Regions from separate parts of the Homo sapiens genome. Here region 2 is linked to region 1. The links are contacts of gene promoters, found by promoter capture Hi-C in blood cells and fetal thymus (Javierre and others, 2016). All regions are on one chromosome and are shown on one strand. Each heading gives the region's core, a stretch centred on a gene start or on the middle of the fragment in contact. The rest is flanking DNA. Distances are from core to core; before and after follow the strand shown. Region 1 holds the start of IL15 (interleukin 15). Region 2 overlaps USP38-DT (USP38 divergent transcript).

Region 1 (2,700 bases), core at 17-2,516:
ACACTGACAAGATAAGGATGACGTCCACTTAGTTGGCCACCACCAGTATCATAATATTAGATAGTAGTTTAAAAATATATAATGGAAACTAGCTGGTGACCACCACTTTACTTCCAGTTTTGAAATTGCTGACTCATCCTATTTAAGAATCTGTTGTAAGCATCATTTAAGAATTAGTTTGGTTTAGACATACTTTGAAGTCAACATAGTTTTTAATGCATGGAATTACATAAAGTCAAATGAACTATATACCCTTGCTACATGCGGTCTTAATAACACTTGAAAAAATTGGCTGGATTTTCATTTAAAAGCCACCTTGAATAATGATTTTATTTCAGTGAAATTCGCTCGTATTTTTTCCAAGTTCCTTCGACATTCTAGATACACTATCGCTTCTCTAAGAGATAACTGGCTGGCGCAGAGTTGGAACCAATACAGACCCAGGCCTGACTGCCAAGCACTGACCATTCCTGCAAATTTCTCTCCCAGAAGACGTGTGCAAGCAAAGAAGAGGGCGATAATTTGATTTTGCAAAGGTAGGGATAGACGCGCACGCACAGACATCTGCACCGGCCCACAATGAGTTTGGGACGGGAGCAGTTAGGAAGTGGGGAGCTGCGGTACCTTTTCTTGGCCTTCCTGAGCTTGACTGGGTGCAGAACTCAGCCCTCAGGGCTGCGGGACAGCGTCTTCTCAGAAACCCGCAGCTTGGCTGGGGCCGCCAGACGCGCGTCCCTCACCCTCCCAGCGGAGCGCGGGGTGCCCGGCCCGCCTTGCGCTAGCCAGCAGCCTGGAACGCCGTAAGAGCGCAGCGCAGTAGGGAGTCGCACGCCAGGGGCAAAGGGACCTGCGATCTGCGCTCCTCCGGAAGCGGGAGGATGGCTAGGAGAGCCTCAGAAGTGTCATTAAAGGAAAAACCAAAAATTGAAGTTGCGGCTAAGTTTTCCCCATGAGAAGGCGGGGCAGCTCGGCCAGTAGGATAGACCGGAGGGTAACGCTGGAGCTGGGAGGGGCCCTGGGCGTAGGCTTTCGGGGAAAATTCCATCGCCCTTTCAACCACCACCACTCCCCTCCCAAGGCAAAGAAGCCGAGCTCTGTACCTCCATCGAGTCCTGGCTGCAGGGTGGGGGGCGACAGCCACCGCAGCCGGGAGGGTGCGGCCACCCAGTTCCCTCCCGGGGGGCGCCGGACTTCGAAGGCAGTGAGCGAGTCAGCTGGGATTCCCCCGGGCGCCTGCCACCCGGAGTCCCAACCCCTGGCGAAAAGAAAAGTGAAAGAGAAAGAGCCGGGAGCATAGGCGAAGACAAACACCTCCCGCGGAGACTGGGGGTGGGGCGGGTGGCGGCGGCTCCTGGATGACTGACTGCCCCAGGTGTCACTGCTTCCCGGCCTGTTTCCGTCCCTGCCGGGGCCTGGGGCGCAGAACTTGCAGGGCAAGCGCAAGGACATCGAGGAGCCCCAGCCCCGCCCTGCAGGAACACCAGCCACCGGTCTCCTCCTCTACCTGCCGGGACACCTGCAGAGAAGGCACAAGGATAGCCGCATCCCAAGCGACGGGCACCATGTGGGAAGCTTCCGCAGCTGAACCTGGAGACCCGGGCTGGGCTGGCGCGCATCCAAGTCTTCCTGAGGAAAGGGAAAAGGATGTCGGATCTGGATGCTGGGCGGCTACTCTAGACCGGCCTCTTGGTCCCCGCACAGGCTGCAAGAAGGAAACTTTGAAGTCCAACTAGGGGAAATGTTGGAAGAAGACACCCGGGTGGCAGCTTTGTGCAAGACAGTTGGTACAGGGAGTGAACTTAGAGCAATGAGCCTCTCTGCGGATCACTTTTCCAGCCTATTGTGTAGTCCAGTGTAAAATATCACACATGGTCCCATTTGATGGAAGCGTGAGATGTTGTTCTTGTAGTATTTTTACATTGGAGGAAGGAACTGAGTTGAGGCTGAGTGATTTGCATGCCATAAAGGCAGTAGCAAAGATCTCACGCTTAGTTTTGAAAGTACTTTGCAGAATCTTGCACTCTTGTGAATCACTGAAAATCCCTCTTGTACGGTGCTTTCCAAATTTTCAGAGTCATGGTTCAGAGAAAATGATGTCTTCCTGGAGCGCAGTTTAATTTAGTTTAAAATTTAATTATGTTTTTAATTACATAAATATGATAAATATCAAATAGAAAAATAATAGAAATTATTCACTTTCCATGTACATAAAGTTCCGTATAATATAATTTCATATTTTTATGAAAAATTTGAGTTTATTTTCATTAACTCAATTTTTTGATATCAGTTTTATATTTGAAATAATTACTGATGGACTTTTTGATGAGAATTACATCAAACTCTAGATAGTCTCCATTAACAAAATAAGTGAGGTATAAAAATGCAAAAACAGTTTTTACAACCATTCAAAATTTCACCATAGTTGGAAATTATATTTAAGAATATGAAGCCATCATCCATTTCTGTTCATGACGATGTCATGTTGAATTTTCTTGTGATGGTGTCAATGGATTTCAAGACCAGTCAGAATTTTTCATAGCAATACATTGAAGCTCTGATTTGCAGAATGAGCATGCACTGGGAGAGCAAGACTGCAGCTGGTTTGGATCTCACCACAAGAATATAGCAGCCACGGAAGGACTGATATGCATATGTGTGAAGATAGAGAATAGGGATGAACAAGTGTATCATGTGTCCCAA
Region 2 (2,798 bases), core at 253-2,752, 1.2 Mb before region 1:
CTTAATAAGACATTTTGATGTCAAAGATGAAAGATAAATCCTTTGAAAGTTCAATGGCCTGTCCAAGATACAAAGCCAATTTTCAAAAAATTGTTTTTAATGTGGGGGTTCACTAACAAGGAAAAATACAGTCAGTAGAACTGGACACAGGCTCTGGGAGGGATGAACAATAAATATCTCAAACCTGGCTCTTCCAGTATCATGTGTCTGTCTTCAACACCCTCTCATGAAAGGCCTTTGGAACTGAGAAGTGTCAAATGGCTCAGCTACAAGGAGAGGAGAAATGCAGTGGCCAGGAACTACAGGCTTTGATAAAACAAGTCTCTGAAATATTGATTCTGAGCCTCTTCACCAATAAGCCATTTGGATTGGGAATATTGTCTGTCACTGAGATAGAAGCCAGTCACATTTACCTTTAATTTTATTCCTCAGATTCCCAGAAAAAAAATCTACCTACAGGTGATATAAAAATAGCTACGTCTCAAGAAAATTTAAAAGAAAGAAACATTCAGAGATTGCTGAAAACTATGTAATTATGTAATTGTGCAAGTAGGTATGACTTTTCTTCTTTATTCATTTTAAGAACAGTTTAAATTGGCTTGTACATTATAAAAATTTAGCCTTTCATCAATACTTGGATAAATAAACTGCAGCCTCCCTGGAATATAGATTATCAAGAGACAATCAAGCTGTGGTTTACTATTTCACGTAGTATGCTTTCTCTTTCAGACCTAATAAAAGCCACAACTGCATGTTTTAGTGTAGAAAGCAGAACAAAGACCCGGCAGTGTTCCTCTCATTTTAGAAAGATAAAGCTCCACAATTAATAGCATATTAGGAGTTTGACCTGAACGGTAAGAGATTTGACTTTCCTATGCTGTTTTGGCTTAACCCCATCTATAAGTGTGGTCTGTAGTGGTGACAAGTACTTGAACCTCTCTCTTTGATTCCATGACCTTTAGTAGAAACATATTTCACTGTATGTGTGTGTGTTTTCATCAAAGGCTACTTTCTTATGTGAATGTGTATTCATTTCATTAAGGACCTCTATTAGCCTGGTGGCTAATATCCCCTTCAAGCTGAAATCCCCAGCTCACAGCTCTCTGCTCTCAGACACAATGCTAGGATGCTCTTTTTTTTTTTTTTTTTGAGGAGTTTCATTCTTGTCACCCAGGATGGAGTGCAGTGGCGCAATCTTGGCTCACTGCAACCTCCACCTCCTGCGTTCAAGTGATTCTCCTGCTTCAGCCTCCCGAGTAGCTGGGATTACAGGCACCCACCACCATGCCTGGCTAATTTTGTATTTTTAGAGAGACAGGGTTTCACCCTGTTGATCAGGCTGATCTCAAACTCCTGACTTCAGGGGATCTGCCCACCCCGGCCTTCCAAAGTGCTGGGATTACAGGCTTGAGCCACTACACCCGGCTAAGATGCTCTTTAGAGCATGGACATCTGATCTAAGGCTAGCTTACCCATGTATGGGTCTGCAACCTATGAGGCAGCTTGCTGCAAGAGGCTCTCTTTTTAACAGGAGAGATGTTAATGACCTCAATCTAATGCTACCCTTTGCAATTTAGACTGAGGAGAATGGAGATCATTCAGTTAGTGGGAGGAGAGGAAAGGGTTAACTTTAAATAGAAGCACAGTCAATGAAAATTGCTGAGAAGTATTAATTATCCAAGGGAAGCATGCAGAAGATACCAAGACTGTGGTCCTGGATGGCAAGTTCCCCAAGTTTTCCTCATCCCTCCCCTCGTAGCTATGTAGTAGAAAGTAACTGGGACCCCAGTAACACCAATGCCAGCAACTTCTCTGGCAGAGAAAAATAACAGATACAGGGAGAAGGGACCCACCATTACAGGCCAAATACCGCAGACTCCTAGTATTTCATGTTTGCCCAGTGTGTCTGTATTCCTTGTAACTATCACCCAAACATTTGCAATTTCTTCAGCTTTCAAGGATCACACTTCCTTTAACAAATAAGATTAGTTAGGGCTGTCATCCTGTTTTATTTTAGGAAGTCTAGTATTTTTTTTTTGATCCAAAACATGTTTATATATTCCACCCATTTGTTCTGGTTTGGAAAGCCCCTTTACCTAATCATCTTCTGGTTCCAACACCATGGCTGGTTTCTCCAGACTGTTGCTGCCTCCCTTGCTCATCCTGGGAAGGAACAAAGTTATCAGGTTAGGCTAAGATTCTGTGACTGACTCTACTTTACACCTGGGAGATGGATGGTAAGCACAAGAAGGAATGACAGTGGAGGAAGAAAAAGAAAAAATACCATGCGATTTCTTAGTCTTCTATACTTCTGAAGTCCTTCATGAAGAGTACGTGGGATGGGGAGTGTTATGGATTTAATTTAATGTTTTCTCCTTCTTTCCAAATTCATATGTTGAAATGCGAATCTGCAATGTGATAATCTTAGGAGGTGGGGCTTTGGCTACTAATTAAGTAATTAAGTCATGAGGGTGGAGTTCTCATGAATGAGATTAGTGTCCTTATAAGGAAGAGGCATGAAGAAATGATTAGTCTGGTGAGACCATGTGAAGATATGATGAGAAGATGGCTGTCTATGAATCAAGAATCAAGACACAGAAACTGCCGGCACTTTGAACTTGGAGTTTCCATCCCCCAAAACTGTGAGCAATAAATGTTTGTGGTTTAAGCCACCCAGTCTATCATATTCTGCTGCAGCATTCTGAGCTAAAATACGGGGATGGAGCAAATGGGGGTGCTGAAGGGATGCAACTTGTTCTGCCAACATGTTACAGGCAGTATTTCCCAGTTTTAAAAGA

What was found. The method cuts DNA at HindIII sites, captures the fragments that hold promoters and counts their contacts. A CHiCAGO score of 5 or more calls a contact.
Region 2: a contact is called between a fragment that was not itself captured here and the fragment with the promoter of IL15 in region 1, in 1 of 17 cell types (total CD4 T cells). The highest score is 5.2, in total CD4 T cells.

Annotation. Positions count from the first base shown.
Region 1 is chr4:141,635,149-141,637,848 of GRCh38, reverse strand. It overlaps IL15 (interleukin 15), which reads right to left and starts at 1,266. Exons shown (of 8, transcript NM_000585.5): 1 at 1,101-1,266. RefSeq lists an enhancer at 1,264-1,353. The HindIII fragment of the contact is 10,361 bases long and covers 1-1,574 here.
Region 2 is chr4:142,856,597-142,859,394 of GRCh38, reverse strand. All of the region lies in intron 3 of USP38-DT (USP38 divergent transcript), which reads left to right. LOC124900788 (a long non-coding RNA gene) reads right to left here. Exons shown (of 2, transcript XR_007058286.1): 2 at 1,986-2,163. Among named protein-coding and RNA genes, the nearest start is that of INPP4B, 12 kb to the right of the region's middle. The HindIII fragment of the contact is 4,240 bases long and covers 1-2,798 here.